6 separate regions of the Homo sapiens genome follow, and all the other regions are linked to region 1. Evidence: promoter capture Hi-C in 16 types of primary human blood cells and fetal thymus (Javierre and others, 2016). All regions are on one chromosome and are shown on one strand. Each heading gives the region's core, a stretch centred on a gene start or on the middle of the fragment in contact. The rest is flanking DNA. Distances are from core to core; before and after follow the strand shown.

Region 1 (3,958 bases), core at 803-3,302:
CTCTGCAAAAAGCAGCTCTTAAAGAAAATTTGGCATTCACAACTCCCTCCCCATTCTTCAGGGGTGTGCACGTTCATGTACGCTTGTGTATGTGTGTGTGTGCACTCACATACACACACACACACGAATGTATTTTGAAGGCTAATCCTATTGTGTCCAGTCCCTTACATCTGTCAGAGAAAGCAAGGAATCCTGCAGAATGTTTTATCCCCACCCTCATCTTTGTCTCAATATGTTCACCTTTCTGCTAATCTGCTATTACTCCCTGCCCCTGAAAATTTCACAGGCATCAGTGCCATCAACTTCTAAATATCCATGGACAGGGCTTTGAAGACACAAAGCAGGAGATCAATTCATTCAGTAAGCGCTCATTGAACAATGATTAAGCACCTCTATCCTAGACATAAATTACCTCATAGATAAATTTCCTGTGGCCGAGGAGTGAATTCTGATTTGTTTTTTAGAGATCTGCTATTCCCATCATGTGTTGTTTAATTATTCTGAAAATGAAGTTTATTTTCCTGAGCAGATATTTTTCTGGATAGGGATACAAATAAAGATAAGTAAGAGATTAAAGAGCTGCTGAAAATAAATAACTTCCCATGAAAACTGAAAAAAGTGTTAATTTTTATTTTCTTGTTTTCTGTGAAAAACAAGAGTCATATGACACATATCAGAATTAAAAATAACTATTTTCAAACTTAAGATACTCTTTTCAACTTTATGAGCAGTGAAACTATCTTTTGTTTCAGCCCTCTACAGTTTTCCTTGCACACAGGCATATTAATAGTTTTTCATTTCTGTTTGACGCATGTGCTAGTTATGTTGTTAGACCACGCGATTCTCAAAAAGCTGGGGATACTCTGGTTTCTTTTCAGATTGTATAAATGTTTTGCCTTTTGCCAAAACGCCTGAGGAATTATCCTTCAAGTCAATTTCTAAAAGAAGTTGAACTTGGATTCGTAACTCTATCAGGCTACTGATGGAAAAACTCATTTTACAGATATGAAAACTGATGCCCAGAGTGAAGTTGACTTATTCAAGATCATTCAGCCAATTGCTTAATCTGAGCACCTTTCTTTTTCCTTCTTGGAAACACAAGATGATTAGAAAATCTTTGGTATCTTAAGTTCACAATCATTTATTTTTCCTTGGTGTAGTTTTAAATAAGATAGTATGAATATCTATATACTTAAATTATTCCAGATGTAGTTTTCTTTCTGTCTTCTAGCAATTTAATTCAACCTCCTAATACCAAAGGAGTTTTAGGAATTATTATGAGCCTTCTCTTCTTCTAAGCTTATTACTACTCAGGTGGACTTTTTCTACGTGAATGCTTAATGATGTATTTTTGAAAAACAATAGTAGATCTCAGTTTGTAACTCAAGGAACTAACTGCCCTTAAAATGAAGGATTTTATTAATTTCCTTTTTGTTTTTATAAATTTAAAGTGATCAGAAAGTTGAAAGAATAGCACAACAAATATAGCTTCACCTAAATTCACAAATTAAAAGTTTTAATGAGAGTAGCTTTGACGTGCTGAAAAGGTGGGAGAGACATACTTCTTCCTTCTACTTTTAGAACGCTGAAGTTTATAAGCCAAAGACCCCAGTCCACATGTGTAAGGAAGCAGCCACTGATGCTGTGTCCTTGACACGCATCTTTCTCACCTTTTGATTCTTTTCAGACGTGGGTCAGCAGCGTCATCTGCCCTTTTTAGCTCTCTCTCCAAGTCTATCCCCAATTTTCTTTCTCCATTCTGTCCACACTACTCCGCTCCCATTTCTTATCTTTTTAATCACAAAGGTTTCCAGTCCTCTTTTTCTTTACTCCTTAACTTCAGCAACTCTCCTCCCCTGCTCCCCTTCCACCAACCCCCATCTCTATTTAAACAAACAAACGGGCGGCAAAACTGGACCTGGCCGGAGGAGCCTTTCAAGTGGGCGTGTCTTTCGGCTGGGGAAAAGGGAGGAGTTAGACTCTGGGCAACATCACTCCTCCCTGGTCAGCTGGGAGAGCAATCAAAACTGCAGCAAGTCAGAGGCTCCGGCCAGAGAGCAGGAGCTGCCCAGAGGCTTGTGGTCCTGAAAGCTCCTCTCCGGGGAGCTAACCAGGGAGAGGAGGTACTGAAGAGCGACTAAACTGGCTGCAGCGGAGAGATCAGCCCGAAGGCGTCCTTGAGGAGCATACGGAACTCCAAGGAAGGAGTAGAATAAGGAGCAGGCAGAGAAACCAGACCCGGTGGAATCTCTAAGAGGTAACAACCGGGTTTGACATGGATCGCTGAAAGCGTCTCTTCTACCATCTGGATGGTCAGGGAGACTTGGCTTCTCTGACTGTCCTCTAAGACGCAGATTCACAGAGTTCACTCCAGGAACGGCCAGTGACCGAGGTGAGCCAGTGGTTGGGGTGGTAAGGGGGCTAAAGTTTCTGTGGGAAGTTCCCACTCACCTAGAGGAGCAGTTGGGGTGAGGAAAGTCTCTTCTGGGTAAGGCAGGAGGAAGTGAGATTTAGGAAACTTGGAATGTAGAAGCTAGTGAGTTGGAACACTTAGGGACAAATATAAACATTTTAAATAATTTTATTAAATTTTATAGCACTTGCCACCCAAAGTGAAACACATAGACACTCACAATCATTTTAATAAAGTGAAGAATACAGATGATCTCCCCCAATTCCTGTCAAAGCCACTCTTTCATTTTGTTAGTGGTGAAAATGTCGAAAAGTTTAACTGCTTTTCCAAGGTGGCCCAGCAAGTAGGTTGGAAGAATTGACCCAATCCACCACTCTGCTCACAGCATTTTAGGGCTATGCAAGGACGGAGGGGGAGGCAGGGAAAGGAAAACAGAATGAGGAATCAGAGAAGATTGTGGAAAATCCTCGGGGTAGATTCTCACCATTAACTATTTTGTTTACTAAAAATGCTTGAATAGTTGGCACAGGGTGGGGGAAATTTCCTTTTCCTCAGCTCTTTCAGATGGGAAATTAGAAGAAAAAGATTGTCCAAGTATATTTTTCCTTTCTCTGCTTCACACTCATCATTTGCCCGCAAAAAAAGTATACTCAGAAAATACTAATTAAATGTAAAATACCCACCCCCATTTTTTTGACAGAGGAAGCAGAGGTGAAATGCTGAAGAACATGCAGGGAAAAATAAGGGACTGAATAACTTCTGTTAACTATTAAGATCTGAGGCAATGGCACCTGAAGTATTACATGGCTTTGCTGGACAAAATGTGTGTGTATGTGCATGCATGTACATACATGTGCACATATATTAATAAAGGGGAAAATAGTAGAGTAGAAAAGAAGAGCATAGAGCAAACTACTGGCTTTTTCCAAGCAGTACAACTTGTGAACATCCTGATTTGGATTCTGTCTTTTTAGTGCCAAGACTGTGCAACTCTGGGAAAAGAATTTAGTCTATTTAGTTCTTAGATTTCCTAGAAACTGGGCTGGACAGCCCCCTTTCTGTTGTATTTAGTCATCGGATCAGGAGGTAAAGAGATTATCACCAGCTTTTAAGAGGAAAGACACCATCTAACTACCACAAATCCACATGTGAGTTCCCCTTACCTATTAATTAGTTGAAATATCTCCACAATAAATAAAAAATTTGTAAAAGTGTAGAAAGAATTCCAGGATAGCTTCACATAGTAGTAATGCTTAACGACTTTGGCCCTAGTAGTAAAAATATTCAGTAGTAACAATCATTGCCTAAGCAAACACTTTGCTAGAACAGATTTAAAATTTTTAAAAATATGAGAAATATTTTGAATTAAAGAGAATTGGCCAAACTTGAAATTTCACTGAAAGACCCTATAGAACGAGGAAAATTCTGTTATATTGTGTAGGTATAAAAGAAAATCCAAATACCAAATGGCTAAAAATGGACTTTATAAGACCAGAATGTGTTTATGTGTATGTGTAGGGAAGGGCCAGATTCTGCCCCTTGAGC
Region 2 (3,958 bases), core at 1,090-3,589, 350 kb before region 1:
CGAATAGGATATACAAGAAAGAGTGGTAAACAGAGAAACTAACAGAATATATAGTTAAGTCTAACAAATTCTTGTTATTATCATTGTGTTTAATACCATTGCTAAGAAATCCTAAAATAGAAATACATCTATTATATAATAAAATAATTATATTATTTGTATAATTATATATATGATTATAAATAAAATAATATATAAAATAATACAGTTATATGTTATATTAATAACAAAAATTAACCATATCTGAAATAAAATTATAGATACTGTTAAAGTCTTACAAGATAGGGAAAGAGGGATAAATTATACATGATACAGGTCTCATTTTCTGAGGAAGGTAAAGTCTGGTTATTAGTTGCTGATACTGATACAAGCATTGATTTAAATAGGTTTGTTAGAAACTTAAAAATAATATAGAATGGGTATGGTATGTAGATGGTGGTGGTGATGATACTGGCCTACTCAGTATCCATACTTGCTTTCTTTCTAAGTAATAGAATTCTAATTTTAGTTATCGGGGTAATGTGTCTAGTTAAAAGATAACATTCCTAGCCACATTTGCGGTTAGTAGTGGCCACTTGATTGAATGTAAATGGAAATACTGTGTGAAATATGAGCAAAGATTTCTTAAAAGGAGCTGACTCAGCAGACACGTGTTTTTGTGCCCATTTCCCTTCTTTCTTCCCGCTGTTTGGAAATTGGACAGGTTGGCTGGAGCCACCACAACTGCCATATGGCCTTGAGACTAGAAGTTGTGTCCTTAGGTCCTTGAGAATGATAGGGCAGAAAGAAAAGAGGTGGCTGGATTCCTGAGGACAGCGGGGCCTCCTACCAGGAGTCCTAGGCTGCCTTTCTCTAGTCTTCTTTTACTTAGGGGCTGGGGAGAAGCTTATGTCTTTACGCTGCTTATTTTGGAGTTTCTATTCCATGCAGCTGAACTGAATTCTAACTGATTTATAAATCTTTTAACGTGGCAGAGTAGAAAAGAGCAACAACAACAAAGAACTTGATCAATCCAGCAAAGATTCAGAAGGAAAGAAAGAACAAGAAAAGAATAAATAAATGGCAGGGTTAGAAGGTGAACTGCAGTCATAGATTTCTTTTATAATAGACACACCAGAAATAAAGTGACACACAAATGTTGAATATAAAGAGATGGAGAGAGAAATGTTAGGTAAATGGAATAGCAACATTATCTGGCAAAATAGAACGCAAGGCCAAAATAATTAAAGAGAACATGAAGTGCTGTTTTAAATCGCATAGGTTTAAAAAAGGTAAAATTCACTGAGAAGATGTAATAGTTACAAACTTTTATGCATCACACTTGCATTGAAACAAAGCAAAAACTGTGATGACTATGAGGACTACCTGACAGAGCCACACTCTCTGTAGGAGACATCGATCTGTTAAGTCTCGGAAGGTGACAGTTTATGTGGACAGAATATAATTTTGTATACAGAACATTTGAATAACACAATTGACAAACTTGCTTGAATGTTATAGCCAATGAAAAGAATAAACATTTTTTCAATACCTGTGTGGTTTTACAAAATCGATTAAATACTAGGTATCAAAGAATACCTCAATCCATTCTCCAAAGAAGAAATTGTAAAGGCCACTTTTTCTTACCACCATATAATACAAGTTAGAAATTAAAAATGAAAGGCAAATCATAATAATTAAAAAAAGAGTCCCTGGGGAAAAACAACAATCTTTCTTAGGTTAAAAGGAAAACAGTTGTGGGGTGGGGGGAGGGGAAAGGGATAGCATTAGGAGATATACCTAATGCTAAATGACGAGTTAATGGGTGCAGCACACCAGCATGGCACATGTATACATACGTAACTAACCTGCACATTGTGCACATGTACCCTGAAACTTAAAGTATAATAATAATAATAAAAAAAAGAAAACAGAGCCTTAAGTGATGATTGTTTTGGAAATGGATATGTGAACGCTGCGCACCTTTACTTTGCAGCCAACTGTTCTTAGAGGATCCCTGGTGTTTAGTATTTTATGAGAAATGAACATGTAGCAAAAGTAAATTCAAGTTTAGAAACTAGAAAATGTCTAATCAAACAATGTGAAAAATAGAAGAGGGCATTAATAGATGTAAAAGCAGAAATTAACTAAATTAAATTATGCAATCCCAATAGGAAAACATGGTTCTCCCTGAGTCTCTTCTGAAGTGCAGTCCACTCATTCCCACAGCCATGCTTCTTAGGTTGGGCAGTGGAATTCACAGACATGTGGATCATCCTAGACTCCACTGCAGAGTCCATTGAGTCATATCACTAATACCTCCTCCTCGGAGGAGTCTTGGGTCATCTGTCTACCCCTCCTCATTGTTTCACCTGCTGGGCTCCCAGCGACTCCTTTCCTTCATGGAAGACTTACTCCTGAGTGGTGGTCTTCTTTTTTGTTTTAAGCTGCTGGACAACTTCATGGATCATGACCATGACTTACCCAGAAGTCTGGGTTCTAGGGAACCATGGAAGTTCGGGTGAAAGTAGAAATTGACCTTATCATAACTTTCACCCCAACTCCCATGGTCAATCTGTGGCCGTGGTCATTTCTTAGAGTTACTCCAATTCTGAAAACACCCACATCCTCACCACATATCACCTATCCTTCCAACTCTTTCATTCTGATACTTCTTCTATATTTATTTTTCAAACTTCAGTTCCCTGACCATTTTATTTTCTCTTTTTCTGTATGCCTACTCCAGTCTTCACGTTCTTTCCTTTCCAGGTTAAATTACATGGTCTTCCACTTAGAGAAGTTTTTTGCCAATCTGTGTCACTTCCTGACCTCATTTTTACAAAGTTTGGCAAATTCTGAGTCTTGATAAATCTAGCTCTCTACTCTCTCTGTCCTATTCCAGGGCTATTGAGCACTTGTAGGAAAAAAAGGATATAAAACCATAAAGATTATACATTATAAACTTCTGGTTTGTAACCTCAACTAGGATCCCACTACATCCTTCACACACACCTAGTGACTTCATCAGCTTCACAGAGAAAATACAAGTGTTTTGGTACAAATTCCCTTTATTTCCTACCAATATATTTGTAACCTTACATGTACTTGTGTCCACCTTTTCTTTCTTTTTTACAGTAACTATGTGAGAGTTTTTCTTTCTCTTGCCTAAAACTTAACCCTTCATCTAAGATCTGACTCCTGTCTCCTCCTGCCTTCTCAGGAATATTGCTCTGTTGATTATCGCTACTCTTCCTTGCACTTTAATTTCTCCTGGACCTTTAAAAAATATCAGTTAAACAAGGCTTTTGAGGTCTTTCATGATCTGGCCTCTTCCTACCATCTCTTCCACATTTCACCTCTTAGTTTATGTCCTAGCTATGCATTTTTCTTTGAGTTCCTTGAGCACACGTTGTTTGCACTTATCTCTGGGATTTTGCACCTGCTGATCCTTCTTTCTGAAACATTATCTTCCCTTTCTCCTCCAATACTCATATTTGAGTAATTTTTCATTTTATATCACTTTCTCTGGGAATCTTCTATCCTGAAAGTTTTGATTAGGCTTAGTTCTAATAGCTTCATTGCACCCTCTAATAGACTATTGTAGAACTTATTATTCTAAGATGTACTAAGAAATTTATTTTTCTGACCTTTCTCACTCTTGTTTCCTCCAACAAGACCAAGATTGTCTTGTTCAGTGTTGATTTCCTAGCATCTGGAACATGTCCGGCATAAGAAGCATTAAATATGTTTTTTTGTTGGATTGATTAAAATCTTTGTCTGAATCTTTGGTCCTAAAGCATAGTATAGAACTTTAGGAAGCTTAATTGGACTGCATGGGAAATACATTTTGTGTGGTTTAGAGTCCTAAATTGTGCCATTTGTTAAGATTAAATCTTGGAACTTGCCACTCAAGAAAGATGAAATTCACACCATCGGTGTCAAAGGAAAATGAGTCATAGAGAGGTTTTCATGTACACAG
Region 3 (3,958 bases), core at 425-2,924, 330 kb before region 1:
AAGGAAATAATCAGAATTAATATGGTAAAAAAGAGAAACTGTATTTTCATTTACAGATGATTAGCTGATTAAATGATACATTTCTAGAAAATCTCAGGTAGTCTGCTAACAAAAACCTATAAAAGAACTTGGGAATATGTTTGGATGTAAGACAAATGCAAGAAAAGCCAGTAGCTTTTTTCTAACCCAGAAAAAACCCCAGTTAGAATTAGAAATGTAAAAATATATTCCTTCTTCAATGTTGAGGAAATGAGTGGGAACTGCTAGTACATTTGGAAAGAAGAACAATGAGAGCACTGGCACTCCAGATATTAAAACTCATTCTTAAACTACTATAATTCATTCATTGGTTCATTGACTTTTTGAGCACCTACAATGGGGAAGGCACTTTTCTAGGCATTGAGGCATCTTTGGGGCACTGGAGAGATAGCAAAGAGAATATAAAAAACAAAGTCCTTGTCCTATGGAAGTTGTAGTGTGGCTTTGACACAAGAATAGAACAGAGTTTAAGTCAGAATAGAAGTTATAGTATGGCTTTGACAGAAGAATAGAGAGAGACATACTCAGTAAGACTGAGTGGAGAATCTACATGACTTAAGTCTAATTGGAATTCAGTGGCTGATTTGTCACTTAATAAAAGATGTAAGAATAATCAGCTTTCAACTAGAAGAAAACAGTTCCTTACTTTACCTAATGTATAAAACATATTCCAGATGGCCTAAACAATTTTTAACCCCTCCATCTCTAAACTTAGATGAACATTCAGGAGAATATGTAAATCCATGTAAATCAAAAAGATCTTTTTAAGCAAGGGAGAAGAGAAACTGAAAAAGAAAATAAACATTTATGAGAACCTACAAATTTAAATGTTGTCCATGTCAAAAGATACTATAAATGTTAAAAGATAAAATAGAGTAGGATATATATTTTTAGCTATACATATGATATTCAGAGGGCTACTATTTTTCTTATGGAGGGAATGTCTATAAAATGACAAGAAGAGAAAAATAACAATCACCAAACTAGCCATAATTATAAAGAGGAAATCTATTGAAAGAAAATACATATTGCCAATAAAAATATGGAAATCTTTCTGATCATTAGGGAAGTGAAAATTAAAACACCAATTAAGGAATTTTTTTCAGCTATCATATGAGGAAAAATTGGAAAATTGATAAGATTGAGCAGTACCAAGTATATGGGGAAATTCATGGGCTGTCAGTGAGAACATGGCTTGCCACAATCTTTCTGGAAAATAATCTGACAATATCTATTAAAATAAAAATATATAAATCATTTGTCCTAACGTTCCCAATTATGGGACTGTATACTATAGAGTATACAGAAGCACACATACATAGGGATGTATGGACAAAGATGTTTATCACAGACTTGTAGCAGCAAAAACCAAACAGATAAATACATACATACATTCAGCTAAAAAAATGAGAACCAAAACTAAAACCACATAGAAAAAAATACATGTGTGTCTGTCTATAAGGGGTTACTTGCGTAGATTGTGGTACAATCTCAATACTGTCCAGCTGTTAAGAGAGTGAATTGGATCTGTATAGTGGAACCGGAAGAATGTTTCTACCAAATCATTAAGTTAAAAAAATGAGTTGTAAGAGCACACAGTGAGATTCCTTATGTGAAACAAAACAAAACAGCACAGATATTGTTTATAGGATCTTAGAGAGAGGTGTGGAAGACTATATACAAAACTATTCACATATTACCTCAGGAACTGGGATTGGAGAATGTGGGACAGGAAGGGGTCATGACCTTTCTCTATCTCTGTGCTATTTAGTGTAAGAAAAGAGCTTTGTAAGGACAGGGATTTGTATCTTGTTCATTGCTGCCTCTTTGGTATCTAAAACATAACAGGCAGCTTGGATCCATTCAGTAAGATTTATTGGCCAGACATGGTGGCTCACACCTGCAAGCCCAGAACTCTGGGAGGCCAAGGCAGGCGGCTCACTTGAGGTCAAGAGTTGACCAGCCTGGCCAACATGGTGAAACCATGTCTCTACTAAAAAATACAAAAATTAGATGGTTTTGGTGGTGCACGCCTGTAATACCAGCTACAAGGGAGGCTGAGGCAGGAGAATCACTTGGACCCAGGCGACAGAGGTTGCAGTGAGCCGAAACTGTGCCATTGCACTCCAGCCTGGGCGACAGAGCAAGACTCTGTCTCAAAGAAGAAAAAAAAAGTATGGAATAAATAATCATTTGTTATTTCTTTAATTTAAAAAAAAAATGGGATAAGACAATGGAGAATTTAGAGTAGAGTAACCAAGAAGAGATGTGGAGAGGGCTACTGCAGAAATGAAAGCTCTCTTCCTAGAGTAACCTGGGAACTTTTAAGTCAGGAGTCAAAAAGTATATGGAGGAGGAGCTAGCCACAGGGTGAATGTAAAGGGGATTAAGCAAGCAACTCTCCCAGGAAAAACGAGGGTCCTCTTCTCCACTTGTTTTCAGGAGTGGCTGGTTTCAGTGTTTGCTTCCAGGTGAATGTGAAGGGCTCAGCTGGTATGAGAGGTCAGAAAGAGACAGGGCAGGATCTGATGTAATTCTGGGTTTTCAAAGTAGTCTCAGAAAAAACAAAAAACAACGGGCTGTTACAGAGAACCATACTAAAGCCAGTCATTTATAGCAAATTCATTCCCAGATTGCCTGCTAGCTCCCCATTCACACACCACAAGGGAATTGGTTGGCAACCTCCTCATCCCATTTATCATGAGCCTGCAGTTGGCCAGCTCCAGGGAGAGACAGTCCCCCTATACAAATGCTGAAGGAGCCAATGCCTGGTGTTGATGATATTCAACTTAGTACTTCATTTAAAGCAAAGAATTAGCAAATATTTGAGGAAAATTAGCATCATGAAAAAGAAGTGTGAAGAAGATTAAACAGGATGACTAGCTAAGGAAGAAACAGAGAAAGATACCCTAGAAGAAAACCTAGGCAATACCATTCAGGACATAGAATTGGTCAAAGACTTCATGACTAAAACACCAAAAGCAATTGCAACAAAAGCCAAAATTGACAAATGCGATCTAATTAAACTAAAGAGCTTCTGCACAGCAAAAGAAACTATCATCACAGTGAACAGGCAACCTACAGAATGAGAGAAAATCTATCCATCTGACAAAGCTCTAATATCCAGAATCTACAAGGAACTTAAACAAATTTACAAGAAAAAACAAACAGCCTCATCAAAGAGTGGGCAAAGAATATGAACAGACACTTCTCAAAAGAAGACATTTATTCAGCCACAAACACATGAAAAAAAGCTCATCATTACTGGTCATTAGAGAAATGCAAATCAAAACCACAACGAGATACTATCTCATGCCAGTTAGAACGGCAATTATTAAAAAGTCAGGAAACAACAGGTGCTGGAGAGGATGTGGAGAAATAGGAACGCTTTTACACCATTGGTGGGAGTGTAAATTAGTTCAACCATTGTGGAAGACAGTGTGGCCATTCCTCAAGGATCTAGAACCAGAAATACCCATTACTGGGTATATACCCAAAGGATTATAAATCATTCTACTATAAAGACACATGCACACATATGTTTATTGCAGCACTATTTACAATAGCAAAGGCTTGGAACCCACCTAAATGCCCACCAATGATAGACTGGATAAAGAAAATGTTGCATATATACACCATGGAATATGATGTAGCCATAAAAAAGAATGAGTTCATGTCTTTTGCAGGGACATGGATGAACCTGGAAACCATCATTCTCAGCAAACTAACACAGGAACAGAAAACCAAACACCGCATGTTCTCACTCATAGGTGGGAGTTGAACAATGAGAACACTTGCACACAGGGAGGGGAACATCACACACTGGGGACTGTTGGGGGGTAGGGGACAAGGGGAGGGATAGCATTAGGACTAATACTTAATGCATACAGGGCTTAAAACCTAGATGATGGGTTGTTGG
Region 4 (3,958 bases), core at 534-3,033, 300 kb before region 1:
TCCAGTCTATCATTAATGGGCATTTGGGTTAGTTCCAAGTCTTTGCTATTGTGAACAGTGCTGCAATAAACATATGTGTGCATGTGTCTTTACAGTAGAATGATTTATAATCCTCTGGGTATATTCTCAGTAATGGGGTTGCTAGGTCAGATGGCATTTCTGGTTCTAGATTCTTGAGGAATGGCCACAGTGTATTCCACAATGGTTGAATTAATTTATACTTCCACCTAAAATGTAAAAGCTTTCCTATTTCTCCACAGCCTCACCAGCATCTGTTGTTTCCTAACTTTTTAATGAACTCCATTTTAACTGGCATGAGATGCTATCTCATTGTGGTTTTGATTTGCATTTCTCTGATGATCAGTGATGATGAGCTTTTTTTCATATGTTTGTTGGCTGCATAAATATCTTCTTGAGAAGTGTCTGTTCATATCCTTGACCCACTTTTTGATGGGATTGTTTGTTTTTTTCTTGTAAATTTGTTTAAGTTCTTTGTAGATTCTGGATATTAGCCCTTTGTCAGATGGATAGATTGCAAAAATTTTCTCCCATCCTGTAGGTTGCCTGTTCACTGTGATGATAGTTTCTTTTGCTGTGCAGAAGCTCTTTAGTTCAATAAATAATGATAAAGGGGATATCAGTACTGATCCCACAGAAATACAAACTACCATCAGAGAATACTGTAAACACCTCTATGCAAATAAACTAGAGAATCTAGAAGAAATGGATAAATACTTGGACATAAACACCCTCCCAAGACTAAACCAAGAAGAAGTTGAATCCCTAAATAGACAAATAACAAGTTCTGAAATTGAGGGAGTAATTAATAGCCTACTGGCTGGGCGCGGTGGCTCATGCCTGTAATCCCAGCACTCTGGGAGGTTGAGGTGGGGGGATTATGAGGTCAGGAGTTCGCGACCAGCCTGACCAACATGGTGAAGCCCTGTTTCTACTAAAAATACAAAAATTATCTGGACGTGGTGGTGGGCACCTGCAATCCCAGCTACTCAGGAGGCTAAGGCAGGAGAATCGCTTGAACCCGGGAAGTGGAAGTTGCAGTGAGCCGAGATTGCACCACTGCACTTCAGCCTGGGTGACACAGCGAGCCTCTGTCTCAAAACAAACAAACAAAAAACAAAGAAACAAACCAACCTGGGAGTAGATGGATTCACAGCCGAATTCTACAAGAGGTACAAAGAGGAGCTGGTACCACTCCTTCTGAAACTATTCCAAACAATAGAAAAAGCAGGACTCCTCTCTAACTCATTTTATGAGGCCAGCATCATCCTGATACCAAAACCTGGCAGAGACACAACTCTTGCCTTTAAAAACCCTTACCTGTGTGCCATCAGGGAGTTTGGGTTTTAAGCAGCATGAGCTGTTCTGATTCTCCTTGCTTGGTGTCTTGCAAATAAATGGCTCCCTTTCTACTGCTGCAATAACCTTTTTGTGGATATCTGGACTTAACTGCACTGGGCAAATGGAACCTAGTTTGGTTCTATAACAATATCTAGTAGGCAGCAAAGACTCAGATTTTGGAGGCTGAAAGTCTGGTGACTCTCGTTATGCAGGGGCAACACATTTGGATAAAAGAAACTGCAACAGTTGGAAAACTTAACTGTCTGCCACCTGGTGTGGTGTCAGTGAAAAGGATGGCAAAAAGGCAGAGTATTGGGGTTGGTTGGCTGCTTCTTACTGCTTTCATCCAAGTTCTAGAAAAGAGATAAATTCAGGCTAGAGCTCACCAGTCTGTTAACAGAGATACAGACTGTTGGAGGTATAGCTCTCTTGCAGGTGCTCCGTGCCTGAGGCCTCTAATTTAAATTGACTGAAGGTCTGGAATTGGAGCCTTGCAGTTTGGTAAAGAAAATCAGGAGCATACCTCAAAGGGAAGCAGTTATATGCTGTGGCTGTGAAAAGACAGCCTAAGCAGGAGATAAAACTGTGGTCCTAAACCTTTTTCAGTACCTTTTATTAAGAGTTTTCTGCCAGACAATGAGAGCTCAGTGCAACAGCAAAGATCAGATTAAGAATCTTGTTTTTATGCTAAAACAAGGGTTTTTTTTTTTTTTTCTTTCTGAGGGCTTCTAGACTGCTGCCATTAACTTTATGGCTTAAGAGGCATGGATAGAGGAGAGAAGCCAGTAAGCACAGACCAGAGTCTTCAGATTTAAAAACGATGTGCAGATGCATTTGGTTGTGGAATATTTGCATGTGGGATGTCTGGAACTAACCACAGGCAAACAGATCATAACTCTACTAAGGTTTTGAAGGAATTATACTGACAGAGGAATCACAAGCCTGGCTGTAAAAGCCTGTGACTGTTCCACCCCTAAAGCCCAGGCCTCCAAAACAGAGAGTGGGAAGTTGTGCAACACCCAAGTAGGTAATACTTTCCAATGTTGTATTAGTCAGTTCTCACACGGCTATAAAGAAATATCTGAGACTGGGTAATTTTTAAAGAAAAGAGGTTTAATTGGCTCATGGTTCTGTAAGCTGTGCAGGAAGCATGATGCTGGCATTGTCTTGGCTTCTGGGGAGGTCTCAGGAAACGTACAATCTGCACGTGGCTGGAGCAGAAGGCGAGGGGAGGTGCCACACACTTTTAAATGACCAGATCTTATGAGAACTCTATCATGAGAACAGCACTGGGGGCCGGTGCTGAACCATTAGAAACTGCCCTCATGATCCAAATCACCCCCCGCCAGCCCCCCTCTCCAGCACTGGGGATTACATTTCAACATGAAATTTGGGTGAGGATACAGAGTCAAACCATATAAAATGTCTATTTCAATTTGTTCATGGAAGATAATGGACAAGAGAGAACAGATTAGACAGGACAGTGGACAAGGGAATTACTCTCCAAGACCAGAATCCAGGATGTCAGATGGTCAAAATAAGCACTCTACTACCAAAGAACAATGGAATTTATTAATTATAATGGACTAGTGACTGCTGTGTATTTTCTCTGCTCCCCATTACCAAATCGTAGATTTAATTGCATGCAGTTAATCTGCTTCTTGCTCCTCCATTGCATCTTTGGTGTTTTTGAGGCAGATGAGGTCACCAGATCACAAAGATCCATATCTAGACTTGACTGAGAGTTATCTCCCAGAGGTCCTGGACTTTGATCTGGAAGCTGTGCCTGGTTGGGGCTTTGCTGTTGTGTCTTTTGAGGAGGGTATGAACAGGTCCTTTATGGAGAGGAAGGTTGTGCACAGGTGGTTGGGTGACCAAAGGGACTGACTGTATTGGAGACTGCAATAAGAGTTCCAAATATTCATTCGTCCCTTCTTCCTTAGTAAGAATCCTCAAATGTTAGATGGAAGCTTGGCTGCTGGACCTAAAGATTATTTTTCAGCTGTCATTGCTAGTCCTATGGACACAAGACTAAGTTTTGGCCAAGAGTGTACAAATGACTGTGCTTGGTGCATCCGCTGAGAGGTGTCATTAGAGGGAAGAATGGGAGAATCCTTTAAAACAACAACAAAAAATCTTTCCTGCTGGCCAGAATGAGTTTGCTGGAAGTGGAAGGGATATTGTCAACCAGGAGGTAATGTGGAGTCCACATGATGAAGATGGTGGTATAAGATAGAAGAAAGCTGGATTGTTGACAATGGAGCTCCCCAGAATAGTTGTAGGTTGCCTGTACTTATGTGAAATAAAAATGTATTTTTGGATCAAATTCTAATGAATACACATTTTACCTTAGATTTATATAATTAGGTAAAAAAACCAGAGCAGCTTTTTTTTTTTTTTTTTTTGAGATGGAGCCTCACACTGTCACCCAGGCTGGAGTGCAGTGGTGTGATCTTGGCTCACTTCAACCTCTGCCTCCTGAGTTCAAGTGATTCTCCTGCCTCCGCCTCATGAGTAGCTGGGATTACAGGTGTGCGCCACCTCGCCCGGCTAATTTTTGTATTTTTAATAGAGATGGGGTTTCATCATGTTGGCCAGG
Region 5 (3,958 bases), core at 376-2,875, 280 kb before region 1:
TGTCAGATGTATAGATTGTAAAGATTTTCTCCCACTCTGTGGGTTGTCTGTTTACTCTGCTGACTGTTCCTTTTGCCATGCAAAATCTCTTTGGTTTAATTAAGTCCCAGCTATTTATCTTTGTTTTTATTGCATTTGCTTTTGGGTTCTTGGTCATGAAATCCTTGCCTAAGCCAATGTCTAGAAGGGTTTTACCAAGGTTATCTTCTAGAATTTTTATAGTTTTGGGTCTTAGATTTAAGTCCTTAATCCATCTTGAGGTGATTATTGTATAAGGAGAGAGATGAGGATCCAGTTTCATTCTCTTACATGTGGCTAGCCAATTTTCCCATCACCATTTGTTGAAAAGGGTGTCCTTTCCCCACGTTATGTTTTTGTTTGCTTTGTTGAAGATCAGTTAGCTGTATTTGGGTTTATTTCTGAATTCTCTATTCTGTTCCATTTTTCTATGTGCCTATTTTTATACCAATACCATGCTGTTTTTGTGACTATGGCCTTATAATATAATTTGCAATCAGGCAGTGTGATGCCTCCAGATTTGTTCTTTTTGCTTAGTCTTGCTTTGGCTATGTGGGCTCTTTTTTGGTTTCATATGAATTTTAGAATTTTTTTTTCTAATTCTGTGAAGAATGATGGTGGCATTTTGATGGGGATTGCATTGAATTTGTAGATTGCTTTTGGTAGTATGGTCATTTTCACAATACTGATTCTACCCATCCATGAGCATGGTTTGTGTTTCCATTTGTTTGTGTCATCTATGATTTCTTTCGGCAGTGTTTTGTAGTTTTCCTCGTAGAGGTCTTTCAACTCCTCGGTTAGGTATATTACTAAGTATTTGTTTTAATTTTTTTTGCAGCTATTGTAAAAGGGGTTGAGTTCTTGATTTGATTCTCTGCTTGGTCGTTGTTGGTGTATAGAAGAGCTACTGATTAGTGTACATTAATCTTGTATCCAGAAATTTTGCTGAATTATTGTATCAGTTCTTGGAGCCTTCTGGAGGAGTCTTTAGGGTTTTCGAGGTAAACAATCATATCATCAGCGAACAGTGACAGTTTGAATTCCTCTTTACTAATTGGATGCCCTTTATTTCTTTCTGTTGTCTGATTGCTCTGGCTAGGACTTACAGTACTATGGTGAAGAGGAATAGTGAGAGTGGGCATCCTTGTCTTGTTCCAGTTCTCAGAGGGAATGCTTTCAACTTTTCCCATTCACTATTATGTTGGCTGTGGGTTTGTCATAGATGGCTTTTATTACATTGAGGTATGCCCCTTGTATGCTGATTTTGCTCAGAGTTTTAATTAAAAGGGATGCTGGATTTTGTCAAATGCCTTTTCTGCATCTATTGAGATGATCATGTGATTTTTGTTTTTAATTCTACTTATGTGGTATATCACATTTATTGACTTGCATATGTTAAATCATCCCTGCATCCCTGGTATGAAGCCACTTGATCATGGCGGATTATCTTTTTGATATGTTGTTGGATTCTATTAGCTAATATTTTGTTAAGGATTTTAACATTTATGTTCATCAAGGATATCGGTCTGTAGTTTTCTTTTTTGGTTATGTCATTTCCTGGTTTTGGTATTAGGTTGATGCTAGCTTCATAGAATGAATTAAGGCAGGTTCCCTCTTTTTCTAACTTGTGGAATAGTGTCAAAAGAATTGGTACCAATTGGTCTTTGAATATCTGGTAGAATTCTGTTATGAATCTGTCTGGTCCTGGACTTTTCTCTGTTGGTGATTTTAAATTACCATTTCAATCTTGCTGCTTATTCTTGGTCTGTCCAGGGTATCTAATTCTTCCTGATTTAAGCTAGGAGGGTTGTATTTTTTCAGAAATTTATCCATATCTTCTAGGTTTTCTAGTTTATGTGCATAAAGGTGTTCATAGTAGCCTTAAATAACCTTTTGTATTTCTGTGGTGTCAGTTGTAACATCTGCTGTTTTGTTTCTTATTGATGCTATTTGGATTTCTCTCTTCTTTTCTTTATTAATCTTGCTATTGGTCTATCAATTTTATTTGTCTTTTCAAAGAACCAGCTTTTTGTTTTATTTATCTTTTGTATTTTTTTGGTTTCAATTTCATTTAGTTTTGCTCTTATCTTGGTTATTTCCTTTCTTCTGCTGGGTTTGGGTTTGGTTTGTTCTTGTTTCTCTTGTTCCTTGAGGTATAACCTCAGAGTGTCATTTTGCACTTTTTCAGTCTTTTTAATGTAGGTATTTAGGGCTATGTACTTTCTTCTTAGCACTGTCTTTGTTGTATTGCAGAGGATTGATAGGTTATGTCACTATTGTCATTCAGTTCGAATAATTTTTAAATTTACATCTTGATTTTGTTTTTGACCTGATGATCATTCAGGAGCAGGTTATTTAGTTTCCATGTATTTGCATAGTTTCAAAGGTTCCTTTGGGAGGTGATTTCCAGTTTTATTTCACTGTGGTCTAAGAAAGTGCTCGATATAATTTAAATTTTCTTAAATTTATTGAGGCTCATTTCGTGGCCTATCTTATGGTCTATCTTGGAGAAAGTTACATGCACTGTTGAATAGAATGTGTATTCTGCAGTTGTTGGATGGAATGTTCTGTATATATCTATTAAGTTTATTTGTTTCAAGGTATAGTTTAAATCCATTATTTCTTTGTTGACTTTCTGTCTTGATGACCTGTCCAGTGCTGTCAGTGGAGTATTGATGAAGTCCCCCACTATTATTGTGTTGCTGTCTTTTTCATTTCTTAGGTCTATTAGTAATTGTTTTATAAATTTATGAGCTGCAATGTTAGGTGCTTATATGTTTAGGATTGTGATATTTTCCTGTTGGACAAGACCTTTTACCATTACATAATGTCCCCTTTGTTTTTTTTAACTGCTCTTGCTTTAAAGTTTGTTTTGTCTGACATAATAATAGCTACTCCTGCTTGCTTTTGGTGTCCATTCACATGAAATGCCCTTTTCCACCCCTTTAAGTTTATATGAATCCTTGTGTGTTAGATGAGTCTCTTCAAGGCAGCAGATAGTTGGTTGGTGAATTCTTATTCATTCTGCAGTTCTGTATCTTTTAAGTGGGGCATTTAGGCCATTTACATTCAATGTTAGTATTGAGATGTGAGGTACCATTCCATTCATCTTGCTATTTCTTGACTGTGTACCTTGGTTTTTTTTTTTTGCTTTTTAACTTGTGTTTTTGTTTTATAGGTCCTGTGAGATGTATACTTTAAAGATGCTCTGTTTTGGTGTATTTCCAGGATTTGTCTCAAGATTTAGAGCTCCTTTTAGCAGTTCTTGTAGTGGTGGCTTGGTAGTGGCGAATTCGCTCAGCATTTGTTTTTCTGGAAAAGACTGTATCTTCCTTTACATATAATGTTTAGTTTTACTGGATAAAAAATTCTTGGCTGATAATTGTTTTGTTTGAAGAGGCTGAAAACAGGGCCCCAATCCCTTCTAGCATGTAGGGTTTCTGCTGAGGAATCTGCTGTTGATCTGATAGGTTTTCCTTTATAGGTTACCTGGTGCTTTTGTCTCACAGCCCTTAAGATTCTTTCCTTTGTCTTAACTTTGGATAACCTGACGACAATGTGCCTAGGTGAAGATCTTTTTGTGATGAATGTCCTAGGTGTTCTTTGTACTTCTTGTATTTGGATGTCTAGGCCTCTGGCAAGGCTGGGGAAGTTTTCCTTGATTATTACTCCAAGTATGTTTTCCAAACTTTAGATTTCTCTTCTTCCTCAGCGATGCCAATTATTCTTAGGTTCAGTCATTTAACATAATTCCAGACTTCTTGGAGGCTTTGTTTATGTTTTCTTATTCTTTTTTCTTTGTCTTTGTTGGATTGAGTTAATTCAAAGACTTTGCCTTCAGCTCTGAATTTCTTTCTTCTACTTGTTCAATCTATTGCTGAGACTTTCCAGAGCATTTTGCAATTCTATGTGTCCAGCGTTTCCTGCAGTTTTAATTGTT
Region 6 (3,958 bases), core at 945-3,444, 260 kb before region 1:
AGGTCCATTGGGTCTAGTGTGAAGTTTAACCTGGATTTTAAAAAATTGATTTCTGTCTGGATAATTTGTTCTTTACTGAGAGAAGGGTTTAAAGTCCCCTAACATTACTGTATTGAAGTCTATCTCTGACTTCATATTTATTAATGTTTGCTTTACATATTTGGGTGCTCTGGTGTTGAGTGCATATATATTTACAATTGTTATAGACTTGCTGAATTGGCCCTTTTATTATCACATAGTGACATTCTTTTCTCTTTTGATAATCTTTGACTTGAAGATTTTGGTGTCCATTTGTATGGAATTTTTTTTGTATCTCTTCATTTCAGACTATGTGTGTCTTTATAGGTAAGGTGAGTTTCTTTAGGCAGCATATATTTGAACCCTGTTTTTTTTTTTTTTTTTTTTTTTTTTTGTATTTTGAGACAGAGTCTTGCTCTGTCGCCAGGCTGGAGTGCAGTGGCACAATCTCGGCTCACGGCAACCTCCACCTCCCGGGTTCAAGTGATTCTCCTGCCTCAGCCTCCCGAGTAGCTGGGACTACAGGCGTGCGACCCCTTGCCCGGCTAATTTTTGTATTTTTAGTAGAGATGAGGTTTCACTATGTTGGCCAGGATGGTCTCAATCTCTTGACCTTGTGATCTGCCTGCCTCGGCCTCCCAAAGTGCTAGGATTATAGGCATGAGCCACCATGCCCAGCCTGAACCCTGTTTTTAAATCGATTCATTCATGTATCTTATTTTTAAAATTAATTAATTAATTAATTAATTGATTTTGCGATGGAGTCTCACTCTGTTGCCCATGCTGGAGTGCAGTGGTGGCTCACTGCAACCTCTGCCTCCTTGGTTGAAGTGATTCTCCTGCCTCAGCCTCCCGAGTAGCTGGGACTAGAGGTGACCGCCACTGGCTAATTTTTGTATTTTTAGTAGAGGCAGGGTTTCTGATCCCCCGTCTCGCCCTCCCAAAGTGCTGGAATTACAGGTGTGAGCCACTATGCCCAGCCCATTCATGTATTTTAATTGGAGTATTTAGTCCATTAACATTCAGTATAATAATTGATAGGTAAGGACTTACTGTCATTTTGTTACTTGTTTTCTGGTTGTTTTTTTAACTCCTCTCTTCCTTTCTTTCTGAGTGTCTTCCTTTGTGGTTAGGTAAAGTTTTCTGGTAATACATTTTAATACACTGAGCTTTATTTTTGGTGTATTTAATATAGGTTTTTGCTTTGCGGTTGCCATGAGGCTTACAAAATTATCTTATAAATATAATAAGTTATTTTAAACAGATGACAACTTAACTTTTATCACAGAACAGAAAGGAAGGAAAAACTAAAAAACTCTATACTTTAATTCCACCCCCCATTCTGACTTCTTGTTTTTTCAATTTACATCTTTTCATATTGCCTATCTCTTAAAAGGCTGCAGTAGCTATTTTTTATAGATTTTTCTTTTGGTCTTCATTCTAGATTTTTGAGTAGATTACACAATGACAATATTAGAATATTGTTAATTTGTCTGTTTGTCTGTGTACTTTCTTTTACCAGTGAGTTTCTTTCTTTCTTTCCTTTTTCTTTTTTTTGAGACGGAGTCTCACTCTGTCACCCAGGCTGGAGTGCAGTGGTATGATCTCGGCTCACTGCAACATCTGCCTCCTGGGTTCAAGTGATTCTCCTGCCTCAGCTTCCCAAGTAGCTGGGATTATAGGCACCCACCACCACACCCAGATAATTTTTGTATTTTTAGTAGAGATGGTGTTTCGCCATGTTGGCCAGGCTTGTCTTGAACTCCTGACCTCAGGTGATCCTCCCCCCTTGGCCTCCCAAGTGCTGGTATTACAGGTGTGAACCACTGCACTCAACCAGTGAGTTTCATATCTTCAAATGTTTTGCTTTTGTATGATAGCATCATTTTCTTTCAGACTGAAGTACTTTTAGCATTTCTTGTAAGATGGGTCTAGTGGTGATGAATTCCTTCTGTCAGCTTTTGTTTGTTTGGGAAAGACTTTATCTCCCCTTCATGTTTGAGGGAAAGCTTTTTCTGGGTACAGTATTCTTGGTTGAAAGTTTTTTTTTTTCCCATTAGCACATTGAATATGTCATTCTACTTCCTTTTGGCCTTTATGTTTTCTCCTGAGAAGTCTATTGCCAGATGAATCAGAGCCCTTTTATATGTTATTTGCCTCTTTTCTCTTGCTGTTTTTATGATCGTTTCTTTGTCCTTGACCTTTGAGGGTAAACTCTCAAAGTCTTATATGCCTTCGGGTGGTATTATTTGGATTGAAGTCATTTGGTGATCTCTAGCCTTCCTGTAGCTAGATTATACCTTTCTCTAGGTTTGGAAACTTTTCTGTTATTATTTGTTTAAATAAGCTTTCTAACACTTTCTCTTTCCCAATTTCGTCTTTAATGGCAATGACACTTAGATTTGCTCTCTTAAAGGTATTCTCTATATTTTGCAAGTGTTCTTCATTTCTTTCCATTCTTTTTTCTTTCTTCTCCTTTGACTGTGTATTTTCCGATAGCCTGTCTTTGAACTAACTGAGTTTTCCCACTGTTGATCCATTGTGCTGTTGAGAGCCTATAATGTATTTTTCAGTTTAGCAAACATATTTCTCAGTTCCAGGATTTCTGTTTAAATTTTTAAATTATTTGAATATCTTTGTTAAATATCTCTAGTAAATTTCTGAATTGCTTTTCTGTGTTATCTTGGAGTTCACTGAGTTTCCTTTGAACTGCTACTTTGGATTCTTTAACAGAGCTTATATATCACTGCCTCATTAGGATCAGTCTTTGGCTCATTGCTTTGCTCATTTGTGGAGGTCAGAGTTCCCTGTTTGCTGTTGTTTCTTATGGATATACATCTATGGCTTTGCATTGGAGGATTATTTACAGTTTTTGCTGTCTGGCTTGTTTTGGTCTTCCTAGGGTATGTTTGCTATGGGGTAATATTTAGCTGCCTGTTGGTCTCCTTATCCTACATTGTTGCCTCCTTTTCAACACTAGATGGTGCCTTAAGCCCAGATTTGGCTTGGGCTTCTTGCAACTGCTCAGAGTGTTGCCCATCCCTGACTGAGGAGAGAGAGGAAGTCCCAAAGAAGTTACCATACCCATGAGGGAAATCTGGCTAGGGATTTGTGCTCAAAAGACTGGTAGAATGTGCCTCATACAATGTCGTACTGCTGAACAGACACTCTGATTTGGCATCTCCTTTGCCTTAAAGACCAGGGTTTCACAGGCTGGGGTTTCTAGTCCCACTTTCCCTCTTTATCTCCAGCTGCCCTTGGGGTTTTCCTTCCTACAGGTATTTCCCATGAGTTGAGGCAGGAATGCTTTTCCTACAAGGGAATCCACGATGGTGGAGAAGCTGGCTATCTACCTCAATCTCACTTTTTCCGATCTAGAAACCATGAGTCTGGGGGAATTTTCCACAAATGGTGCCTGGCAGATTGAGGATCGGTATCAAAGATAGACAGGTTTGTTTCTCTTACCCGAAGCTCGGAGTTTCTCACTTCTCTGTGGCTGTAGGGATTGCCCCAGCCTCAGATTTGAGTTTTAGGATTTTGCTGGTTACTATATATATATATATATTTTTTTTTTTTTTGGAGGCGGGGACCGGGTCTTGCTTTGTCACCCAGGCGGGAGTGGAGTGGAGTGGAGTGGCTCCAATATGGCTCACTGCAGCCTTAACTTCCTGGGCTCAAGTGATCCTCCCACCTCATCCCCCCAAGTAGCTGGGACTACAGGTGTGCACCACCACACCTGGCTAATTTTTTGTGTTTTTGTGGAAGCAGGGTTTTGCCACATTGTCCAGGTTTGTCTCGCACTCCTGGACTCAAGCAATCTGCCCACCTCAGCCTCCAAAAATTCTGGGATTACAGGTATGAACCACTGTACCTGGCCCCTGGTGATAATCTTGATGCTGGATATTTGTTCTTGGTTTTCTGCTGGGGAGAGCAAAGTCAG

Evidence for each region. The method cuts DNA at HindIII sites, captures the fragments that hold promoters and counts their contacts. A CHiCAGO score of 5 or more calls a contact.
Region 2: a contact is called between a fragment that was not itself captured here and the fragment with the promoter of NEUROD4 in region 1, in 6 of 17 cell types (total CD8 T cells, M1 macrophages, total CD4 T cells and 3 more). The highest score is 6.5, in total CD8 T cells.
Region 3: a fragment that was not itself captured here is called in contact with the fragment with the promoter of NEUROD4 in region 1 in 6 of 17 cell types (activated CD4 T cells, naive CD4 T cells, non-activated CD4 T cells and 3 more); the score reaches 9.1 in activated CD4 T cells.
Region 4: a contact is called between a fragment that was not itself captured here and the fragment with the promoter of NEUROD4 in region 1, in 7 of 17 cell types (naive CD4 T cells, naive CD8 T cells, non-activated CD4 T cells and 4 more). The highest score is 8.3, in naive CD4 T cells.
Region 5: a contact is called between a fragment that was not itself captured here and the fragment with the promoter of NEUROD4 in region 1, in 2 of 17 cell types (activated CD4 T cells and naive CD4 T cells). The highest score is 5.4, in activated CD4 T cells.
Region 6: a fragment that was not itself captured here is called in contact with the fragment with the promoter of NEUROD4 in region 1 in 7 of 17 cell types (naive CD4 T cells, total CD4 T cells, activated CD4 T cells and 4 more); the score reaches 7.1 in naive CD4 T cells.

The regions. Positions count from the first base shown.
Region 1 is chr12:55,017,922-55,021,879 of GRCh38, forward strand. NEUROD4 (neuronal differentiation 4) reads left to right here and starts at 2,053. Exons shown (of 2, transcript NM_021191.3): 1 at 2,053-2,392. The HindIII fragment of the contact is 8,784 bases long and covers 1,298-3,958 here.
Region 2 is chr12:54,667,506-54,671,463 of GRCh38, forward strand. No RefSeq gene overlaps it. Among named protein-coding and RNA genes, the nearest start is that of DCD, 21 kb to the left of the region's middle. The HindIII fragment of the contact is 2,913 bases long and covers 884-3,796 here.
Region 3 is chr12:54,691,026-54,694,983 of GRCh38, forward strand. No RefSeq gene overlaps it. Among named protein-coding and RNA genes, the nearest start is that of DCD, 45 kb to the left of the region's middle. The HindIII fragment of the contact is 9,388 bases long and covers 1-3,958 here.
Region 4 is chr12:54,714,122-54,718,079 of GRCh38, forward strand. No RefSeq gene overlaps it. Among named protein-coding and RNA genes, the nearest start is that of DCD, 68 kb to the left of the region's middle. The HindIII fragment of the contact is 3,088 bases long and covers 240-3,327 here.
Region 5 is chr12:54,738,890-54,742,847 of GRCh38, forward strand. No RefSeq gene overlaps it. Among named protein-coding and RNA genes, the nearest start is that of DCD, 93 kb to the left of the region's middle. The HindIII fragment of the contact is 7,865 bases long and covers 1-3,958 here.
Region 6 is chr12:54,756,925-54,760,882 of GRCh38, forward strand. No RefSeq gene overlaps it. Among named protein-coding and RNA genes, the nearest start is that of MUCL1, 96 kb to the right of the region's middle. The HindIII fragment of the contact is 338 bases long and covers 2,026-2,363 here.